3 separate regions of the Homo sapiens genome follow, and regions 1 and 3 are each linked to region 2. The links are contacts of gene promoters, found by promoter capture Hi-C in blood cells and fetal thymus (Javierre and others, 2016). All regions are on one chromosome and are shown on one strand. Each heading gives the region's core, a stretch centred on a gene start or on the middle of the fragment in contact. The rest is flanking DNA. Distances are from core to core; before and after follow the strand shown. Region 1 overlaps FAM107B (family with sequence similarity 107 member B). Region 2 holds the start of SUV39H2 (SUV39H2 histone lysine methyltransferase). Region 3 overlaps NMT2 (N-myristoyltransferase 2).

Region 1 (3,723 bases), core at 204-2,703, 170 kb after region 2:
TGAATCAGAGCTAGACCACTTAAAATCATCTTTCCACAATTTTCTTTTGTTGGGGTGGTGATAAAATACACATAACGTGAAATTTACCACTGTAACCATTTTTTTGTTTTGTTTTGTTGTTTTGTTTTTTTGTTGTTGTTGTTTTGTTTTTTTCTGAGACAGAGTCTTGCTCTGTCGCCCAGGCTGGAGTACAGTGGCACGATCTCGGCTCACTGCAACCTCCGCCTTCCCGGGTTCAAGCAATTCTCCTTCCTCAAACTCCTGAGTAGCTGGGACTACAGGCGCGTGCCACCACACTCTGCTAATTTTTCTATTTTTAGTAGATACGGGGTTTCACCGTGTTAGCCAGGGTGGTCTCGATCTCCTGACCTCGTGATCTGCCTGCCTCAGCCTCCCAAAGTGCTGGGATTCCAGGCGTGAGACACGGCATCTGGCCACCATTTTTTAAGTGTATAGTTGGGTGCATCATCCAAAAGACCACCACGATGGCTGAAGAGTAGAAGGGACAGTTTTATTGGCAATATCAATTGGCAAACCAGGAAAAGATAGTCTCCAGCATGGACTAAAGCTGCTCACTCTTTGAAGAGGGGAAGGGCAGGTTGGATTTTATGCCTTACAATGTCTATATTACACAATAGTCATACATATTCAGCAGATTTGGGGAAAAGCTATATATATTTATAAGGATGAGGTCAAGTGCATATGCAATAGGTAAACATACATGTAACATACATCCCAGTTCACTTTGGGGTGAAGTTTTAGCATTAAAATGAGGCAGATATCCCAACACTTTGGGAGGCTAAGGTGGGAGGATCCCTTGAGGCCAGGAGTTCAAGACCAGCCTGGGCAACATAGTGGGACCTTATCTCTACAAAAAAATTTAAAATTAGCCAGGCATGGTGGTGTGTTCTGGTAGTGCCAGCTACTTGGGGGGCTGAGGCAAGAGGGATACTTTAGCTGTCTTAAAAAAAAAACAATTTGGAGTTTGAGGCTGCAATGAGTTATGATTGCACCACGGTACTCCCACCTGGGTGACAGAGTGAGACCCTGTCTCTTAAAATAAAATAGAACAAGGTGGTATATATCAAAAGGTTAAGCATAGGACACAAAGACAGTTTGTGCACAGCCTCCATGAGCTGCTGAAACTGGCTTAAGGTCTGCAGTTGCTTATCAGGAAAGAATGTTTATCAGGCCAATCCTCTGTTCAACAGAGTTGTAGTGGTCTGGGTTGTAAATCAGAATTAGGAAGGGTATGTTAATTTGCCTGATAGCTCCTATTGTATAGGAGTTTAGCAAGAGTGCGGTTTTTCTTGTAAGCCATAGGAATTTAGAAATTTGCCCTGCCGGTTGGGTCCTGAAACCTTGATCTGTAGGTAACTTCTGTTGCCTTAACGTTAGAGTTTCTCTTAGTTGACAAAAGGGCATCTGTTTTGGCCTCTCAGATCACAAGTGGCATCAAATACGTTTACATTGTTGTGCAGTCATCACCACCCTCCATCTCCAGAACTCTTTCGTCTTGCAAAAAACTGAATCTCTGTACCCACTAAACAACTTCCCCTTTTCTTCTCCACCTAGCCCTTGGCAACCATCATTCTGCTTGTTCTCTCTATGCATTTGACTACTCTAGGGACCTTGTAGGAGTGGAACCATATATAGTATTTGTCTTTCTGTGGCTAGCTTATTTCTTTGATTATAATGTCTTCAAGATCCAGTTATGTTGTGGTGTGTGTCAGAATTCCCTTCCTTTTTCAAGCTGAATCACATTCCATTGTATGGCTAGACCACACTTTGTTTATCCATTTTTCTATCAGGGAAAATTTGGGTTGTTCACACCTTTGGCTATTGTAGACAATGCTGCTAGGAGCATGGGTGTGCAAATATCCATTCTAGACTCTGCTTTTAATTCTTTTGGGTCAATATGCAGAAGTCTAATTGCTGGCTCATAGGGTAGTTGTATGTGTAATTATTTTTTAGGAATGAGTACTGTTTTCTATAGCACCTGCACCATTACAGTTCCCCCAGCAGTGTACAAGGGTTCCAGTTTCTCTACATTCTCATCACTGCTTATTATTTTCTTTTTTTTAAATAGTGGTCATTCTAATGGGTGTGAAAGTCGTATCTCATTGTGGTTTTGATTTACATTTCCCTAATGATTAGTGATGTGGTGCAGCAATCCATGAGCTTATTGGCATTTGTGTATCTTCTTTGGAGAAATGTTTATTCAAGTCCTTTGTCTATTTTTTTTTTTTTTTTTTTTGTGACAGGGTCTCACTCCATTGCTCAGTCTGGAGTACAGTGGCGCCATCTTGGCTCGCGGCAAGCTCTGCCTCCCGGGTTCAAGTGATTCTCCTGCCTTAGCTTCCCAAGTAACTGGGATTACAGTTGCCCACCACCATGCTTAGTTAATTTTTGTATTTTTAGTAGAGATGGGGTTTCATCATGTTGGCCAGGCTGGTCTCAAACTTCTGATCTCAAATAATCTACCCGCCTTGGCCTCCCAAAATGCTGGGATTACAGGCATGAGCCACCACACCTGGCCCTTTTGCCTATTTTGAATTAGATTGTTTGTTTTGTTCTTATCGAGTTGTAGGCATTCTTTATATATTCTGTATATTAATCCCATATCAGATCCATTATTTACAAATATTTTTGCTCATTGTATGTGTTATACTATTTTGATTTCACCTTAGATTCAGTTAAATATGCAGTTTAATTTTTAACCATCTTGAACTTTGAAGGCTGCCCAGTCTTGGCTGGGCGTCCCCTCTGTATAATTTGTAGATTTTGTCAGAGACCTGTCTCTGGGTAGACCCACCTTTTTGAAGATAGGCTACAACCACACAATATTTTTGGGGTAAACAGTTGGAAACTGTTTGTTATTGGATTCTTCTGTGACACTTAGCATTTTGTTGGCTATTAGTTAAAACCTGATCCTGTGTGTTTGGATGACTCATTTATTGTATTTATTTGATACATACTAACACACACACACACACACACACACACACACAGAGCAATTTACCTAAACCTTTACAATTAGCCTCTTTGATAATTTACAAATTTAGGAGAAAATAAAGTGATCGGATTTCTCCTAAGCCTTAAAATCTCTAAGGGCATTTAACATTCTTCAGTGATGTACAGGTAGACCACCTGGATGTACTGTCAGAGCATAGAAGGTGGCTCCTACCATCTGTAGAATGGGAACCATGATTGCTGTTTCTCTCAAAAGGTTTGTGCAAAACCCACAAGGTTCACTTAATACCCACTGGGAGGAGAACCCAGTTTTCTGTCCAAACATTTTAGCATTTTTCTCTTTCTTTTCCTCTCCCCCTTTAAAAATGTTTGCTCTTAAATCATCACGCCTGGTTCTCTACTCAAGCCCTTCAGTCGCTGCAGAACCTGGGGAGAAACAGAAATTGCAGTTTATTATGATCAGCTGCTCATAAATGGCAACCTTAAAAAAATCGAGACAGCATTTATCAAGTCCTGATGTAAGTGTGAAAACTGGAAGCTTTTCCTGACTGATTGCTAAAGCAGAATTGGATACCACATTTTGTTATAATTCAAAGAAGACTTAAAATGAGTCAGTGTCATTCTTGAAAGATTTGTTTTTATTTTGTGTGTTTTTCAAACTTAAGAAGACCTGGGCTGGGCGCAGTGGCTCACGCCTGTAATCCTAGCACTTTGGGAGGCCGAGGCAGGTGTATCACTTGAGGCCAGGAG
Region 2 (3,781 bases), core at 1-2,500:
AGTCCCTTCCATCTACAAAAACTAGAGAACGTTTTGTGTTAAGCTGACCTCATTAAGGGAATCACGTATAAAGGAGGTTCCTCTTATCTACTCAAGGTGTGTTTGTGTGCTTTTCCTAAACATTTTTATCTAGTTGAGGATTCAAAACACAACCCGCAAAGGAAATGCTCTTTGAAAATTAAAAAAAAAAAAAAAGTGAACATGAAAAACTGCAAACACGTGGTTAAAAAAAGAAAGACAATCTCTCGACAGTCTCCAGTAATGCAGAAAAAGATTTCACTGACAAAATTAAATAGTTCATGACCACCACAAACACCTTCCGCTGGTTCACAGTAACCCCTGACATTCTCCAAGGAGAAAAATTCAGGGATAATGAGGTCATAATCCCAGCGGAGAGGAGACGAGCTTGAAAACACCTTTACATTCCGGAACGCACGGAAAAGTTCCAGGCTCTCAAAGCGTGCGCGACACCAACACCCCCCGACGCCCACACCCACGCGCGCTCGGTGCCCAGTTCCCCGGTGCCCAATTCCCCAGCGTCCACAGAAATAACACCAAGCTCCCGGTGGGTGAAAGAGTTACCGTAAGCCAGAGGCTGCAACCTCAAATACCCACTTTCTGGGCGATTCTCCAACGAGGCACTCAACCTCCTAGCGTGTCCGCCTTGGGGGGGATTCCTCGCTTATCCCCTTTCTTAGCACACAGGCGCCCCGATTTACTCTCCCCCTCTGATATTAAGGTCATGTTCACGCCGGCGGGCGTCGCTTCCCGCCTCCCACTTCAAAGGCCCGGGCGCATGCCGCACGCCGCGCTCGAACCACCACAAAGGAGCCAGTCGCAGCCGTGCCCCCCGGACCTCCAACCGGGGACTGCCGGGGAGCGGCCTCGAAGCCCGAGGCCGCCACGGGAGACGCGGAGGGGGCCGGGCCGAGCGGGCGGAGAGGCCACGCTCCACTTCCGAAGTGCCCCAGGCTCGGACAGTGCCCACCTCCGCGGCGGGAGCCGGCCGGGCAGGGAGGCGGGTCAGCGGCCTGGGGGAGGATAGGCGTCCGCAGCGTGCGTCCCGGAGTTGGGGTCGCGGCGGGCGGGGAACCGCCACGTCGCCATCTGGCTGGCCCGCGGGACGGCCCCGCCGCCCGGGCCTTGGGAGCTTGCCTGGGAACAGGGAAGGCGAGGGGGCCGCGCTCCAGCCTCACCTCCTCGCGCCTCGGCCCCGACCGCCGCCATCTTGTAGAGCTTTCATTCAAACTGGCGCGGTCTGACGGGATAGCTCAGCTGGCCCGACGCCCCGCCCCTGGCCGGCCCGCGCGGGACTTGGGGGCCGGGGCTTGTTGGGGGACGGAACCCGCACGGCGTCCTGACGTCACTGGCGGCCGACCCCCCGCCGCGGCGGCCAGCGCGCCTGCGCCCCAAAGCTAGGCCCGGCCCCAAGCGCGAGGAGCGGGGCGGGGCGAGCGCGCGTGCTCCCGGATCCTCGGCAGTGTCCGGCGCCCCCTTCCCTTCGCCAGGCCCGTTTGGCGCCTTCACTCGGGAAGACGTCGGCCAGGACTTTGCGCTTTGGAGACGTCTTACTTCGGCAGCACTCGCACACTGCGAGATCCGACACGGGCAGCGGGGACCTAGGGAGCCGGGGACGCTGCCTGTCGGGTACGGTTCCGCAGCTACCGCAGCCCCGTGGGCCATGGTTAGTCTCCCCCCGACACCGCTCCCTCTAGAGCTCCGGGCTTCGGAAGCGGCTGCACGTGGGCATGGCTGGAGAGGTTCCGCTGGCTTGGGGCAGTCGCCGGGATTCCGACTGGTTGGTGTGGGGTGTGGCCTGTGCTATCCAGCTCCCAGCTGATCCTAATGTGCGGCACAGCGGAAACCACCGGTCCACATCAGTGCTTCTCACTTAAAGGGGCTTACGAATCGTCGGGGGTGGGGGAGCTGGACTTGGAATTTTTTAAGAGATGAGGTCTCACTCTGTCACCCAGGCTGGAGTGCAGTGGCGCGATTACGGCTCACTGCAGACTAGACCTCCTGGGCTCAACTTTAATGTAAATTGGGATTGGGTAGGTCTGTAAGGGGACCCGAGCTCCCCTCCCATGTTGTTGCCAAGCTCCTGAGCTCGGCCTGGTGGCGGGTGGGGGCCGGGAGGAGAAGGACACGTTAGTAAGGAAGCTGCAGGACGACTCCAGGGGCCTCCCACCTGGTCTCCACCCCCCTCCCCCACCCATTCTTGACGCTGCATCCATGATTGTTCTAAACAACCTAAAGCAGAAATCTTAGAGCAAATAACGAAAACTGGCAGAAGGCCATTTGATATCTCCTTAAAAAATTCATGTAAAAAATTACATAAACGTTTCAAAGCAGTATGTATAAATTTGAAATACTGGAAATGAACGCAGACCATTAAAGGAATAGTTAATTATTTGATTCCATTATGAAATACTGTCTAGCCGTCTTAAAAAGGTGTTCATGAAGCTTTTAGTATTCAGCAAAACCAAAACAAATCCCCCTGAAATATAGTTTTAACTATGGAAGAAAAAAATGTATAGGAAAATAACGAAATAGCCTTTTCGGAGTGATTTTCTTTTTAACTTCTCGTTTTTAAATATTTAATCATTTTCTACGATGGGAAACACCACTTCCTCACACACACTCATGCTCCCAGACTTTATTTAGCTACAAACGGCATCATAATACAAATACTGTTCTGCAGTCCGTGTGTGTTTCAATGCAACTGCATTTCTCAGACATGTTTCTAAGATTTGAGTCCTTAGTAAATTTTGTATTCCATATCTCATTACCTTGAGATAAGGAATAAAAGGCCCTGTCCAACCCTGTCACCTGGAAGAGCATCCAGGCCCTTTAAGGCTTAGTCTATCTAGGATTATGCCTTCAGACTTGGATACAGCCTCCCGTCCTAACCGGCCCCTGTATTCATTACCTCTCCTGTATGTTTTCAGAGCCCACCAAGGAGCGGCCATCGCTACTCACTGGCCACTCTTGAATCCTTTTTGGCTCCTTTTCCTCAGTCCAACCTGGGTTCCTCAGAGAAGAGACTGTAGTCCTGGGACTGCATTTCTTTTCCGCCCTCTCCCTATGTGACTGCCCCAATTCCCATGGATTTAAATAGCATCTTGACACACAAGATGCCTCACTTATCGTCTCCGGCCCTGGCCTCTGCCTGAATTCCAGGCTAGAATATCCACAGTGCGTAATGGACATATGCCCTTAGGTGTTGCACAAACATCTCAAATTGAACATATCCGGAAAAATACACTTCTGAACTTCGTAGCATTCAGAATAAAACTCAAACCTCCAGATGGCCGGCAGGGCCTCCAGTGATGGGAATCCTGTCTCACCTCACTTGGTGCCACTCTCCCCTTTACTCATTTTCCTGGCCTTTCCCCGGCCCCACTTACCCAGAAATCTTTTACTGTGCATCTCCTATGTGCCAGGCACCTGATAGGTGCTGGGAATATAGCAGTGGATGAGAAAGAAAAAAGACCCAGTCCTCATGGAGCTGACTTCCTAGTGACAGGAGCAGCGGATAAAGCAAATCACTGAAGGCAGCTGGAAATTACTTTCCGGTTAAGAGGACAGGCTCCTTCCCCTCCTCACATGGCTACCTTCAGATCACTTGGGTCTCAGCTTAAACACCACCTATTGACAGAGGCCTCGCATGTTACCTCATTCTTTAGCCCTACTTTGCATCCTTAAAAAGCACTCATCAAAATTTGCAATTATCTTGTCGGGTTTTTGTTCTTTGGTCTTGATTCATAATGAATGCATCGCA
Region 3 (3,560 bases), core at 798-3,297, 240 kb before region 2:
TTCAAGAGAACAAAATCACCACACGCTTTTAATGGGCTATTGCATAATAAAACAAGTTGCTCAGTTGTATTTTCAAAATGTCAGACTTGGCAGTTTTAAAGCATCCCTCAGAAACCATGAAGGATTGGTTCTAGGACCCCTCAGATACCAGAATCCTTGGGTGCTCAAGTCCCTTATATAAGATGGCGTAGCATTGTGTATTTGCATATAATGTATGCACATCCTCCTGTATACTTTATTTATTTATTTTTGAGACGAAGTCCCTCCCTGTCTCCCAGGCTTGAGTGCAGTGGCGTGATCATGGTTCACTGCAACCTTCGCCTCCCAGTTTCAAACGATTCTCCTGCCTCAGCCTCCCGAGTAGCTGGGATTACAGGTGCATGTCACCACGCCTGGCTAAGTTTTACATTTTTCGTAGAGACAGGGTTTCATCATGTTGGCCAGGCTGGTCTCGAACTTCTGACCTCAAATGATCCACCGGCATCAGCCTCCCAAAGTGCTGGGATTACAGGCATGAGCCACCATGCCCCCTGTCCTGTATACTTTAAATCATCTCTGGATTACTTATAAGGTCAAATACAATCTAAATGCTATGTAAGTAGTTGTTACACTGCATTTTTAAGAAATAATGACAAGAAAAAAAGTCCGTACATGATCAGCACAGATGCAACGATCCAGTTTTTTTTCCCCGAATATTTTTCGTCTAAGGTTGGTCGAACCCACAGATGCACAACCAGTGGATACGGAGGGCTGCCTGTACTCCAGAAGTCATGCTAAGTTGGCTATGTCCCATCATGTAGACTGTTAACATTCTTGGCATTGGTATATACATTGGTGTGTTTTGGGTATTGGCGTACATCATGAACTTGTACTGTTCCCTTTGATGTTTGTTTGGGTCATGGGCAGTAGTGACCAAAGACTTGCCGCACAGATAGGAAGATACAACACATTGTCTGTCTCGCCTATATTTTAACCCAGCTCTTCTCAAACCTTAATGTATGTACAAACCCAAGGAAATCTTGTTGAGTTGCAGATTCGGATTCATTAGATCTGGGGCAGGGCCAGGCTCTGCAGCTCTAACTAGCTCCCGCGTGCTGCTCATTCTGCTGGTCTGCAGACCACACTTTGAGTGCAAAGTCGTTTCACTCCTCTTCTACCTGAACTTCTGGATTTGTTTTGTTTCCCCTCCAACAAGGTTACAAAGACTTCAGGTTTGAGACCAATGGAACCAAAAGATATCAAATCAGTTCGAGAATTAATCAACACTTACCTGAAGCAGTTTCATCTGGCTCCAGTGATGGATGAAGAGGAAGTAGCCCACTGGTTCCTCCCCCGGGAGCACATTATTGACACGTTTGTAGTGGAGGTAAAGACAAGGTGATAAACATAAAGCTTCTCCTTGAAGCACCCTTTGTGTTCAGCGTGCAGCAGAATTATTTACACACACTTCCTTCTATTTCATCACAGAACATTACAAAGATGTGTACTAAAGGGTAGAGAGTTAATAAGATTAATAATTCTGAATACTCTATCAAGGACATGCTTAAGTGAAACTGCCATTTGTTGAACCATGAGGGTGTGGTGTTGAGGAATATGGTAACCATGAGTGTGGTCTGGTGCCATTGTCTTGTTTTGTGCTAAGGCACCAGCAGCTTTACCCACAGCACTGCTTTGCACCGTTGATGCTGATGGTAACTTGTCAACAAGGCAAACAACTTCTTAGTGTTATGAAAATCATTTTGACCTCACAGATTTCTGAAAGGGTCTCAGGTACCCACAGGGTTCACAGACCACATTTTGGGAACTGCTTTCCAGGGCATATCATTAGAGCTGCTGAGTCTGTGGTTGGACCCATCTTTCACATTTTTAGAAATTGCCAAATAGCTCACCACAATAAGGTCCTGAGCAGTGTAAGAGAGTTCCTGTTTCCTTGCATCCTCACAAGACGTGGGTATGGTCAGATTTTAAATTTATTTAGGCCCACCTGATGAGTATGGAACAGTATCTTGTTAATTTATATCCTCATTGTTGATGAATTTGAGTATCTCATCAATCTGTTAGCCATGTTTATTTCTTTTATAAACTTGCTATTTACATCACTTGCCTGTTTTTTTTTTTTGACCGTAGTTGTCTTACTGATTTATGAAAGGTTTTTTGTTTGTTTGTTTTGAGATGGAATTTTGCTCTTGTTGCCCAGGCTGGAGTGCAGTGGCACAATCTCGGCTCACTGCAAACTCCACCTCCCAGGTTCAAGCTATTCTCCTGCCTCCGCCTCCCGAGTAGCTGGGATTACAGGCGTGCGCCACCATGCCCGGCTAATTTTTGTATTTTTAGTAGAGTCGGGGTTTCACCATGTTGGTCAGGCTTGGTCTTGAACTCCTGACCTCAGGTGATTCACCTGCCTTGGCCTCCCAAAGTGCTGGAATTATAGGTGTGAGCCACTGTGCCCAGCCCGTGAAAGGTTTTTTATATGCTGAATACTAACACTTTGTATTGCGTTCCTTTCTGGGTCCTCTATATTCTATTTCGTTGATCTCCATGTCTGTCTTTTCACTAATACCACACTGACCTCGTTGCTATAGCGATATAGGAAGCCTTAGTATCAGGTAGAGTAATTCCTCCCACTTTATTCTTGTTTGTCAAGATCATTTTAATTAACCTATTTCCTTTGCCTTTTGCATATACATTTTAGAATAAGCTTATTTTTGCCTACAAAATACCTTGCTGGTAGTTTGATAGGGATTACATTACACTGATAGATTAATTTGAGGATAATTGAAAAGTCTTCCAGTCCATGAACATGGAATGTCTCTACATTTATTTCGGTCTTTTAAAATCTCTTTTATCAGCATTCTCTAAGAGCATCCAGATCCTGTACATGTTTTCTTAAGTGTATAGCTAGATATTTCACTTTCTTTGGGGCGATTATAATGGTGTTGTGTTTTTAATTTCAGTTTCTGCATGTTCATTGTTAGCCTGTAGAAATGCTTTCTTTTGTGTGTTTGTATCCTACCACAGTGCTGAAATCACTTACTGGTTCCAGGAGTTTGTGTGTAGATTCCTTGTGATTTCTACATAGACAATGTGTCATCTGCAAATAGGGACAGCTTTATTGCTTCCTTTCCAATCTCGATGCCTTTATTTATTGGTCTTGCATTAATGCAGGACCTAGATCTTCCAGTGCTTTGTTGAGAAAGAGTGGGGAAGGTTGTCATCCTCGTCGTGTTCTTGATGGTGGGAGAAAAGCATTTACTCTTTCACCATGAAGTATGATGTTAGCTGTAGGTTTTTCTGTGGGTGCTCCTAATCAATTTGAGGTCATTCTCCTCTATTTCTAACTTGCTGAGAGTTCTTATGAATGGGCATTGGATTTTTTCCAGTGCTGCTTCTGCTTCAATAGATGTAATCATATGATTTTTCTCCTTTAATCTGTTGATATGTTAGATTACATTGATTGGTTTTCAAATGTTGGGTCACTCTTACATTCCTAGAAAATATCCACTTGGTCAGGGTGTATAATTATTTTTATACATTGTTGTATTGATTGCTAATATTTTGCT

Evidence for each region. The method cuts DNA at HindIII sites, captures the fragments that hold promoters and counts their contacts. A CHiCAGO score of 5 or more calls a contact.
Region 1: a fragment that was not itself captured here is called in contact with the fragment with the promoter of SUV39H2 in region 2 in 1 of 17 cell types (neutrophils); the score reaches 5.2 in neutrophils.
Region 3: a fragment that was not itself captured here is called in contact with the fragment with the promoter of SUV39H2 in region 2 in 2 of 17 cell types (monocytes and neutrophils); the score reaches 6.8 in monocytes.

Annotation. Positions count from the first base shown.
Region 1 is chr10:14,703,558-14,707,280 of GRCh38, reverse strand. All of the region lies in intron 1 of FAM107B (family with sequence similarity 107 member B), which reads left to right. Among named protein-coding and RNA genes, the nearest start is that of FAM107B, 69 kb to the left of the region's middle. The HindIII fragment of the contact is 4,120 bases long and covers 1-3,513 here.
Region 2 is chr10:14,876,335-14,880,115 of GRCh38, reverse strand. SUV39H2 (SUV39H2 histone lysine methyltransferase) reads right to left here and starts at 1,250. Exons shown (of 6, transcript NM_001193424.2): 1 at 1,197-1,250. The coding sequence starts at 1,227. It overlaps SUV39H2-DT (SUV39H2 divergent transcript), which reads left to right and starts at 1,457. Exons shown (of 1, transcript NR_186426.1): 1 at 1,457-3,781. RefSeq lists a silencer at 777-1,516. The HindIII fragment of the contact is 2,774 bases long and covers 1-2,465 here.
Region 3 is chr10:15,117,149-15,120,708 of GRCh38, reverse strand. NMT2 (N-myristoyltransferase 2) reads left to right here. Exons shown (of 12, transcript NM_004808.3): 9 at 1,196-1,366. It overlaps LOC105376431 (a long non-coding RNA gene), which reads right to left. Exons shown (of 2, transcript XR_930693.4): 2 at 1,140-1,486. Among named protein-coding and RNA genes, the nearest start is that of RPP38, 22 kb to the right of the region's middle. The HindIII fragment of the contact is 1,306 bases long and covers 1,395-2,700 here.